Regions from separate parts of the Homo sapiens genome. Here region 2 is linked to region 1. Evidence: promoter capture Hi-C in human tissues and cell types (Jung and others, 2019). All regions are on one chromosome and are shown on one strand. The core of a region is centred on a gene start or on the middle of the fragment in contact, and the rest is flanking DNA. Distances in the headings are between cores, read along the strand shown.

Region 1 (5,763 bases), core at 883-3,382:
ATCAGTCCTACCATGTTCCTGGAGAGTCCCCAACTTTGGGACAGGCACCTCTCCTATTTGGTAAGAAAAGCAAACTTACCTTGCTATTGGTCCAGCTTTTCAAGTGGTTGCTAAGCAACAGGGCTATGTAGATATTGGATTTCTGTCTTCATTATATTGTTGTGTCAAATGATCATCTTGGGCAACCTCATGCTCAGTAATTACAATATTATGTGACTCACTGGATTCCTGTTTGTATCTGCCTTTTTGTTCATGACTGAGTAGGTCTTGTTTGCTATCTGCAGATTGACCAGACTTTCCTTTTGCATTTTGGCCAGACCATTGATCTTGATTAGGATTTGGTGTCTGGATTTGAGACTTGCCTTCTACTAGCTTTTCAATTTGGAAAGAAATACTGCTTTGGGATACATCTTTCTGCGTGCTCTTTCCTCCATAGTTGAGTCGTCTTTCTTCTGTACTTGAAGATTGGTATGACATTTTATTTTCCTTATGGCCATGCTCTTGATCTTGACTAGGAATTGTTACCTGGTTTTGAGACTTGCCATGTATTTTCTCTTCAGTTTGGATAGAAATACTGCCTTTGGATACACCTTTCTGTACATCCTTTTCTCCACTGTTGAGACGTCTTTCTTCTGTACTCGAAGATTGGTATGATATTTTATTTTCCTTATGGCCATACTCTTGAGCTTGACTAGGAATTCTTACCTGGTTTTGAGACTTGCCATGTATTTGCTCTTCAGTTTGGATCGAAATACTGCCTTTGGATACACCTTTCTGGATGCCCTTTTCTCCACAGTTGAGATGTCTTTCTTCTGTACTTGAAGATTGGTATGATATTTTATTTTCCTTATGGCCATGCTCTTGATCTTGACTATGAATTGTTACCTGGTTTTGAGACTTGCCATGTATTTTCTCTTCAGTTTGGATAGAAATGCTGCCTTTGGATACATCTTTCTGTACACTCTTTTCTCCATGGTGAAGTTGTCTTTCTTCTGTACGTGAAGACGGGTATGATATTTTATGTGCCTTCCGGCCATGCTCTTGATCTTGACTGAGATTTTTTGTCTGGTGTTGATTCTTGTTATATACTAGGAGCTCATCTTGGGTAGTAAAAATGTCTTTGGGTCCATGTTGGAGTCTGTCTTGATGTGCAGGATGGAGTGAAGTTTGTAGTTTACTTGAATGTTCCTCTCTCACGTCAACCACATTTTGGTAATGCCCTTTATTTTGATGAGAATTTTTAGTCTCACGTTGTTGTTTGTTAACTACTAGTTCTTCAGTTTGGAGAACATAACTGCTTTGGGATCCACCTTGTGTTCTACCTTTTTGTGCACCAGAGGCTGAAGCTTGTTCTTTACTTAGTCCATGAACCCATAGCCTTTTTTCTGTGTTTGAACATTGACTGGATAATCCCTTTCCAGATGGGCTATTCCCCTGATCTTGAGAAGGATTTTGTGTCCCATGATGAGCTTGGCCTCCTTTATGATGTATAACTATCATGTGAAAATGACCTTTTGATTTATCATGGTCTCTGCCTTCTTGTTTATAATTGAGCAGTTGTTGACTTCCACCTAGGTGTTGTTTTGATTTTGTCGCCTTATGTAGGGCATTCAAATCATATTGCTGACTTTTTCGGGTCCAGTCATGATCATTGATGTCTACATGATATGTGTGTTGAATAGAAAAACTGCCTTTGGATTTAGTATGTTGTTGGTCTTTTTGTCCAAAATAGTGCTGGCCCTTTTGTCCATGTGGAAATTGGGAAGATCCGCTTGGCAATTGGCCTTTTGATCCACCTGGTAATTGATAATAGAAATGTATGCATTCATTATCTCCAAAGCTCTCTTGCAACTCTTACCTCCCACCTTTTCCCAACAAATTTCTGATATTTCCAAAAGCCTACAGCGTTGGGTGGAGAAAAATCAATTCTCATCAAGGAGAAGAATCTGTGCCTGAACAGGTTACTGTTTGCACCCTGAATATCCTTAGAGGCCATTTTTTTAAAGTAGCTTTCCCCAAGGCTTACCCTCTCCACTCACCTTTTTGTCCCATCACAGCTGCTTGCTTCTCCAAGATAAGGAGCAGGGAAAGGACAAAGAGGATGATGGACTTCATCTTGCTTGAAAAATCTTGTCTGAGAACTGAGCGGATCTCTTCATTTATATGTTCCTTGAGTGGGTGTGCTATGGGTGGAGCTGAAATGTCAAAAGGCACTGCCCTTTCATAGCTTATTAGTAAATGCCAGCTTCCTCACCCCTGCTCAGTGGGGGATAATGTCAAAGTCCCCAGGGACTTAGCATGGGGACATAATATCAAAGGCAATTTTTTTTACTTTCAGAATCCCCAGCAAAATTTTATCGGTCTTTGTATATCATCATGCCAGATCGCTTGCATTATACAGAAGAAATTCAGTCCGGAGTAGGAAGGAGACTAGCTTCAGGTTACAAAAGTAATTGGTGGCTGACAATGCCTTCATACTCTAAATGCGAGTTTCCTTTCTGATCCAATAACTTAAATACTAAATTTTAGGTATAACTCTATACTTTGTCTTGTTTTAAAGTAATCCTGAGACACATTCTGTTTTACTCGAGAAGGAGCAGTCATAGAAGTAGAATGATACAGAAGAGAAAGAAACTTCATGGAAGCCAAAGAAAAAAATTTCAACAAATAAATGAGGCATACCAATGTCAAATGTATCTGTGAAGTTCATCACAAAAAAGACTAACATGTGTCAAAAACTTTCTGATGTTACTCACTGCTAGTAATGTTAACGAGAGATGAATACAGTTGTGTTGGGTTGTCAGTTGAAGGATGGAGTCCAGCTGAAACCATCTCAAGAAGTCTGATTTCATGGTGGAATGAGAGGTGAGGCTGTATCTGGAGGGTGAGGTAAGCTCCAGAGATTTTTTGAAAGGATGAGAAAAATTTAACATGTTTTTATGATGATAGGAACAACTGTTGGAAAAAGAAGTAAGAATGTTGGTTTCCAAATTGGATTATTTGATGATATTTACCTAAACAAAAATGTATTTACCAAAATACATTTTTTAAATAAAAGCATTTCATACTTCTGTAATAAACTGCTGAACCCTCCAACAGGCTGTGAGGAATATTTGCCAACTTCAGTTCATTAAATAATGTATTGAGAGTGGACCTAAAGCTAAAATTTTTACCTTGGGTGGAAGCATAGGGTTTTTTTGCTTTTGTTTTGTTTTGTTGTGTTGTGTTGTTTTGTTTTGTTTTTTTGCAATTGTGAAAACTTCTTGAAAAATCCAAGGAAGGTTTTTTGTTTGTTTGTTTGTTTGTTTTGTTTTTTTTGTTTGTTTGTTTTTGAGACAGAGTCTCGCTCTGTCGCCCAGGCTGGAGTGCAGTGGCACCATCTCGGCTCACTGCAAGCTGTGCCTCCCAGGTTCATGCCATTCTCCTGCCTCAGCTTCCCAAGTAGCTGGGACTACAGGTGCCTGCCACCACGCCCGGCTAATTTTTTGTATTTTTAGTAGAGACGGGGTTTCACCGTGTTAGCCAGGATGGTCTCAATCTCCTGACCTCGTGATCCGCCCGCCTCAGCCTCCCAAACTGCTGGGATTACAGGCATGAGCCACTGCACCCGGCCAGTTTCTTTACTTTGACTGAAAAAGTCCTTGTTATGAGAAGACAACAGGAGAAGCAGCAACATTTGAACAGTGACCCTGTATGCATTCAGAACACTGTGGAGGGTAGTTCTGGAGAAAGGACGGCTTGGAAACTTATTTTCTATTATTCTCTCTTAAAATCCTAACCTTCCTGTAAGCAATGCTATATGGAAGGGGAGAGGGGAAAGGCCAACCATAGGAAAAAATGCTACTTATGCCATCAAACTTGAAGCATGTGAGCTATGTGGTTTCTCTATGAGCCATTCTGAGATCTTACCAGTTTTATCTGTTTGCCCTAAGGGCAGTAAGTATTTCCTTATGGCAGGGACCCCAAAAGAAAAGAGTAAAGTTTTCCTGAACACAAATTTATTGCTGTACCTGCTAATCACTATAATCTTCCTTACACTTCCCTTAAGGAAATACCAGGAACTGTTGTGTTCCAAGATTACCGGAACAAACAAGAGTCTGAAATATTAATCTTACTTATGGATCAAGAACAAAACTTCCAACTAATCTAGTGTCCAAAAGATACAGATAAAACAAAGGTGCACAAGATTTGCAAAAACAAAGCAGGAAAATGCAAACTAGGCACAACATGTGATTATGATACTCATATCATGATTGGATTTAATGAAATTTGAAAAAAAAGCATTTCAAAATTAAAAATAAATCTATTGATAAAGATGAAAGCAGAAATCGGTAATTTGGAAAGCATAAACATGGTATAGTGCTGCATACATCTTAGATGTGGTATCATGATTGGGAAAATATCAAATGATAAAAAATAAACAAGGAAAAAATAGTAGAATATTTTAAAGTTCACCAAGTAGGAGACAGGTCACTGAGCTTGACACAGTTTATATGCCCCTGTGGCAGCACAGTGGCTATGTGTCCACACTGAGTACCTGAGAAATAGCCCTGTAACACTCTCTCCCTCCAGAGACACATCCATGGCCTGCTCAGTGGCCCTATACTCCCAATAAGAGCTTGAGAAACAGACTCACAAGCTCCCCTGCTGGGCTTGACACCACGCTGGCCCAGCTGCCGAGAGCCCATTTCCCAAACCTGAGAAACAGCCCATGGGCCACCCCTGGTGGGCATACCCAAGCCAGCCAAGTAGTTATGTGGTCATGTCCCAGGTCTGAGAAACAGTCCTACAGATTGCCTCTGGTGGTCACACATGAAGGACAACCAAGAAGCTCCATGCCTACACCCTAGGCCTACAGAATATCTTCTTGGGCCACCCCTTACAGAAATGCTCAAAGCCTAGCCACTCAGCCATGCAGCTGTGTCAAGTGCCTGAGAAAAAGCCCTCTTTCCTCTCTCATTCCCTTCCTCTCGTAGGCCATCCAAGCAGCCTTACACCCACATCTTGGGCCTGAGAAAAAGCCCAGTAGACTGACCCTGGCAGACATGTCTTCAGACCAGTTGAGAAGCTGTACTTCCACGTCCTGAAACCAAGAAACAGCTTCACAGGCCACCCCTAGCCTGTAGTCACACTCACTGACTGAACAAACATGTGCCCATGCTTCCAGCCAGGATAACAGCACCCTGGCCCCAATACCATTGAGTCATACCTTAATTGAATTACCTACCACGTGGATGCACACACCCCTGACCTGAGAATTAGCGCTGGAACCACAGCACTGGCAAAGCCATGCCACTGTAGCAGCACACTCTCTCAACTAGGGCGCTGAGAAACTCTCAAGTGCCACAAGTGTGGATCATAGGTGAAGAAACTCTATGGAAACAATACTGCTACATACACCTGCAACAAAAACCAACAAACTCAAATGAACTAACACCTAAAGACCCATTCATAAAAATAAGTTTTCGCTTATAAAATCTACTCCATAAAATTGGAAGAGGCAACTTTTCCATCAGACGCATAAAATAATAGCAGAAAACTTCTTGCATCTTGGGAGAGAGATAGAAATCCAGGTCCAGGAAGCTATAAGAACCCTAAATAAATTCAACCTAAACGGGTTCTCTCCAAGGCACATTTTAATTGCATTGCTAAAAGTCAAAGACAAAGAAAGATTTTTAAAAGCAGCAAGAGAAAAATGTCAAGTCACATATAAGGTAACCCCCATCTGACTAACAGAGAATTTCTCGGGAGAAACCTTACAGG
Region 2 (5,763 bases), core at 2,041-4,540, 250 kb after region 1:
ATGCTTCAGTTGATACATTTAAAATAGAATAGCAATAGTTGCCACTTACTGAACATTTATTATTGTGATAAGCACTATACTTTACCCCAATTACCTCAGGTAATAACACAACTCTATGAATTGATATATTATTATCCCAACTTTACAGATGAGGATTGTGAGCCTCCAAAATAGTAAGCAATTTGCTTAAGCCCACTTGTCTATTATGACCAGTAAACAGTAGAGCAAGGATTTTAACCCAGGTCAGCCTCACATTGTAGTAGTAAGAGCAAACTGTATTAGAAATGAGAGAAATAAGTTACATAGTCAATTATGCCTATCAGTCTTGAACTTATTCTAAGTATAACTTATGAGCATTGTTAGATTAAAGGTCACAGCCTTGCTGCCTTAGGGAAAATAGCAAGGATGGCAAGCTAAAGCTGAAAATGGCAGGCAACAGATGTAGAGGGACTGTCATTTCCCCATACCTTTAATGATGCCAGTCAACTGGCAGTCTTCAGATTCATCTTGGACTTGTCTTTTCACAGCACAGCTGGTGTGTCATTTTTACTTCCCTTCTCTGCTTGATTTCTTGCTGGATTCCAAAGAGTATTTTTCCAACTTACAAAAAGACGATGACTCATGTTTTTTACAAGGAGGTAAATCATAAAAAAACCATTTCATGTAATCCAGGATTGGGTTTAACGTTGTAAATCTGTCTCCTAACATAAAAAATACTAAACCCAAAAAATAATCTAATGACATAAAGGAAATTATTTTAAAGAGCATATAGTCATCAGTCAGTAGTTGTTTTTACAAGTTAGTATGTCAGGTCTTCCCTTGATCCAGAAATACTCCCAAGGGATTAAAAATACAGACACACACACACACAAACACGAGTGTGCGCTCGCACACACATAGCCTGTCTCTGAAAGACACACAAGAAGCCGCTACCCTTGGTGATTCTGGGTGGCTAAGAGACAGAGAGAGGTAGGAGGCAGTTTTTTTTTTTTTTTATTGTATGCGTCTTAATATTTTTTTAAATTTTGAATCATATGATTGTATCGCCTATTCAAAAATTAACAAGAAAAACTTAAGAAATGGTGTCATTAACATTTTAATTTCCTGGTCATTACAGAAGAAGGAATAAATACACAGGATTGAATTAAAATGATATATAAAAGTATAAAAATTATGTAAACTTAATTGTATCATGAAAGTCAATGATGGTCACTGCACATTACTAATATCATTTCATCAGTATTTTATAAACGCATTAACAAATCTGTGTTTCAGGAAATCCACTGGCTCCCAACCCAGGATTGTGGATCTCCTAAGTAGCTGTGAAGGTGGTGATAGTGCTTAATTTATTTACTATATTTCACAAAGGTGCAAATATTAAAATACTAAATTACATTGATTTTCATTGAAACAGTTATTGCATACCAATCAGAAATTATGAACAGCAAATTAAAAAGTTTCTTATAGAATTTTAATCTAATTAGTGCTATCTGTTAAGTAGATAAAATCATACAGATCCTACAAAAGAGAAAACAATAGATATTCTTCGTGTTAAAAAGACCAGGAATCACTAAATCTGTCTATAATAGGGATTGGAGTAAAGCGAAGAAGGACATCACAAGCTGTAAATTTACCTTCCACCCCACCTAGAACAATGCTGAAAGGTTCATATCCTTCTGCTTCTTCTGGGGCAGGAAAAAGACTGGGACCCAATGACCTACCTATAGTTTCTTTACACTCACCCTTCTCCAAGTTTCTCTAAGACATCAAATACTTCTTCTGGTTGTTTGGTTAAACTATCTTCATCCAACTTTTTCAGCTGCCTGTGAATAAAGAAATATAAACACAAAATACATTTTATTTGCTAGGAACTAGAACATAAAATATATCTTTTTTTTATAATTAGCATCTCAGGAACTTCTCTATACAGACTTCACTAGTTAAGACTGTTTTAAGAAACAAGGTTTCTTGGGAGGCCGATACAGGCAGATCACGAGATCAGGAGATCGAGACCATCCTGGCTAACATGGTGAAACCCCGTCTCCACTAAAAATACAAAAAAATTAGCTGGGCGTGGTAACGCATGCCTGTAATCCCAGCTACTCAGGACGCTGAAGCATAAGAATGGCGTGAACCCAGGAGGCAGAGTTTGCAGTGAACCGAAATTGCGCCACTACGCTCAAGCTTGGGTGACAGAGAGAGACTGTCTCAAAAAAAAAAAAAAAAAAAAAAAAAGTCATGTGGCTGAAATGCTGTAGATTCAAGCATTCGATGTATCCTTCAAAATCTATTTAAATCTTGAGATTTCATGAATTAAAATGATGTAATTATCTCTTCAGAAAAGGTGTTTAATGTAAGGTAACTATGAATTGAAACATAACTATGAATTGGACTGCAGACTAAGGAAGACACGGGAAACCTTTGCTCTTCCATTAGCAAGTTTTTTGTAAGTTTGTCAAAACACATAAATTCTGTAGGTATCACAGAAACAGAAAGTGGAAAGTGTACATTTAGATATGATCAAAAGTGAAAAATCACTAGGCAGCTGTGAGTTTCAGATATTCTCACAAAGACCTTCCTATGAGTAGATACATACCTTTGACTAGTCCCAAAAATCAAAGGTACTTGGCTGCTCACAATTTCCAGATAATTCAGATTTCTGACTATGCTAGACAATCATAACAAACATGGGAGGTTATAAATTAACATTTTTTTAAAACTCTGAGATCTCTGAAAATTACTAATGAGCTTAAAGAAGGAACTTGCCAAGGAATATGTGTGTGTGTGTGTGTGTGTGTGTGTGTGTGTGTGTGTGTGTAGTCTACACAATGGCTTCCTGAAACTACAAAGAACAACAAAGAATAGAGAGCTGAGGAAACGGTGAAATATGGAAGTAGTCACACTGGAGACCTCTTTGTAGAAAAAAAAAGGTTTAGACTAGCTGGATAATATCAATTATTACAACAAAAGACTTAAATACACACACATACACACACACACACACACACACAAATGTGTACCTTCCTAAATAAAACAGATTAAAATTAGAAGACAAAAAATAAAACAAACCAACAAAAACCCTGACCACATCAAGTGTATCTACCAATAAACACTGATCTCAGAAGGACAATCTTATAGTTTATGAATATCAAGGACTATAAACTAGAGAAATGGAGAACTGCTCCAAGTCAAAACTGCCTTAACTTGATATCAACAGAACAAAATGATCACAGTGACCTTTGAAAATCAAAAGGTCCTAAAAATTAAATACCAATGACATCATAAAAACTCCTACCTTCAAAATGAAAAGGGATGAAGTGAAACTCCTCTTAAACTTCAGAACTGAAACTTCTATAAACTCAGAAGTCAGAACGAACATCTCATATGCCAGGGTTTTTTTGGTAAAGTCCTGAATTGTAATTGTATAAACATTGGACAATACCTCACTTCTCAAGTATAATCAAAGTTGTATAAACAGCTTATACAAAGGAAGATCAAGTATGTTTCTTTGAAGTGTTGACTCTCTGTGGTTTACAAAATGCAAAAGTCACTATTTCAACTACTTCAGGGACCACAGCATAACAAAGGAAATTGCCACTGCCTTGAGATAGACAGCTGCAAACCTCTGATAATACTTTGACAAACTTTTTTTTTCTTTTTTTTTAATTATTATTATACTTTAAGTTTTAGGGTACATGTGCACAATGTGCAGGTTAGTTACATATGTATACATGTGCCATGCTGGTGTGCTGCACCCATTAACTCGTCATTTAGCATATGACGGCTCGAATACATCTTTGAAACAATCTAAGTGCTTTTTTGTTTGTTTTTGATCCGGGGCTATTAAAAACAACTTGAACTTAAGGCGCTATTACATCTCTGGTGCCTGATAACCAAGAGGTGGTCAAAATATATTTGTGAAATGGATTCACAAATGTAATGATGGGAATCACGAATTTCATCAGCAATCTTTGAATTATCACAATAAAACAGAATTTCACCTAAGAAGTATTACTGAATTATCAACATTTCTATAAAAATATTTTGATAAGTGATTCATAATAATATTTTATACCATGACTCTTCACAGAAAAAACACTATTACCAAAACAGCCTGACTCTGATAATACAGTTCTCTTATCTGGGACTTCCCCAGGTTCCAGACGGTTTCAGCACTTGCTCATAAATGAACAAGCCTGATCAACAGAGCATCCATGGACCAAATACTGGTGGATGCTCCTCTCCTAAGTCAGATGGCCATGTGGATGGCCAGCATCCCAGGAATGCACTCTACGCCTTCCACTATAACATTAATCTAATGGCAACTCATTTTTTAAAATTATTAACTCCTATATGAGACACCAATCTGTCATCACTTAATCACACACACACACAAATGTCAAACTCACGAACACAAAGGGCATTTCCTGCACTGGGGTTATTGGAAACACATGCCATCTGAATTTCTGAAAAGACACCTGTATCTTTCCAAACACAAGTAATGGTGTCTATGAAGTAGTCACTTACAGGTCTGGCTAATTCTCAAAGCTTTCTCCCATTTCAGAACTCCCATAAAGTTCATTTTATGTGTAACTATTTCTTTTTCCACACAGAATTTGATATGGATTACAACAACTATACATGATAAATGGACAAAATCTTACATAATAAAACTGTGTCCCCAGCTTACCCCAATTCATATGCTGAAGTCCTAATACCCACCACCTAAGAATGTGACTGTATTTGGAGACAAGGCCTTTAAAGAGGTAATTAAGATAAAATGAGGTCATATGGGCATGCCCTAATCCAGTATGACTGGTGTCCTTATAAGAGGAGATTAGGACACTGACAGGTACAGAAGGAAGAACATGGAGACACAGGGAGATGGCCATCTACGAGTCAAGCAAAGGCGTCAAAAGAAACAACTCTGACAATGCCTTGATTTCAGATCTCTAGCCTTCAGAACAGTGAGAGAATAAATTTACGTTGCTTAAACCACCCACTCCATGACACTTTGTCTTGTCCTGATAAACTGATACACGTGATAATAAAATTGATCTGCTTCAAATTAGGCAATCTACTAGTTACAATGAGCTGGGAATCACCAGCCACTTCAGAACCCAGTCCTGCAATGCTCTTCTCTTGTGCTTTTAATACATTTTTTAAAATCCAAAAGGTACAGGAATGAGCATGCCAAGAAACTTTAGTCCTTTGCTCAAGATTATGTAAGACAAGGCAAAGGGGGAAACAAAACTCAGATTCCTAATCCTCTTTTCAATTAAACCAAGGCCTCGGAGAAAGAAACCAAGAAGAACGAACGAACATAGTTCAGAAAGAAACATAACTAGTGTGCATTCATAATTGGATCACTATGGTACTATAGTAAATATCTGCTAACATACACAGAGACCTGTGAAACAGGGGTACTTTTAGAGAGGCATCAGAGTGAGGCAGTTAAGAGCATGGCCGGGCCCGGTGGCTCACGCCTGTAATCCCACCACTTTGAGAAGCCAAGGTGGGCGGATCACGAGGTCAGGAGATAGAGACCATCCTGGCTAACACGGTGAAACCCCGTCTCTACTAAAACTACAAAAAATTAGCCAGGCGTGGTGGCACGCACCTGTGGTCCCAGTTACACAGGAGGCTGAGGCAGGAGAATCGCTTGAACCCAGAAGGCGGAAGTAGCAGTGAGCCGAGATTGCGCCACTGCACTTCAGACTGGGCGACAGAGTGAGACTCCGTCTCAAAAAAAAAAAAAGAACA

Evidence for each region. The method cuts DNA at HindIII sites, captures the fragments that hold promoters and counts their contacts. A contact is called where the count stands out against the background at its distance.
Region 2: a contact is called between a fragment that was not itself captured here and the fragment with the promoter of SEMG2 in region 1, in 1 of the 25 tissues and cell types used here (aorta).

The regions. Positions count from the first base shown.
Region 1 is chr20:45,217,742-45,223,504 of GRCh38, reverse strand. It overlaps SEMG2 (semenogelin 2), which reads right to left and starts at 2,132. Exons shown (of 3, transcript NM_003008.3): 1 at 2,040-2,132; 2 at 80-1,796. The coding sequence starts at 2,115. The coding sequence ends at 124. The HindIII fragment of the contact is 14,800 bases long and covers 1-5,763 here.
Region 2 is chr20:44,968,138-44,973,900 of GRCh38, reverse strand. It overlaps STK4 (serine/threonine kinase 4), which reads right to left. Exons shown (of 11, transcript NM_006282.5): 2 at 1,743-1,823. Among named protein-coding and RNA genes, the nearest start is that of STK4, 4.5 kb to the right of the region's middle. RefSeq lists a silencer at 5,505-5,634. The HindIII fragment of the contact is 4,792 bases long and covers 895-5,686 here.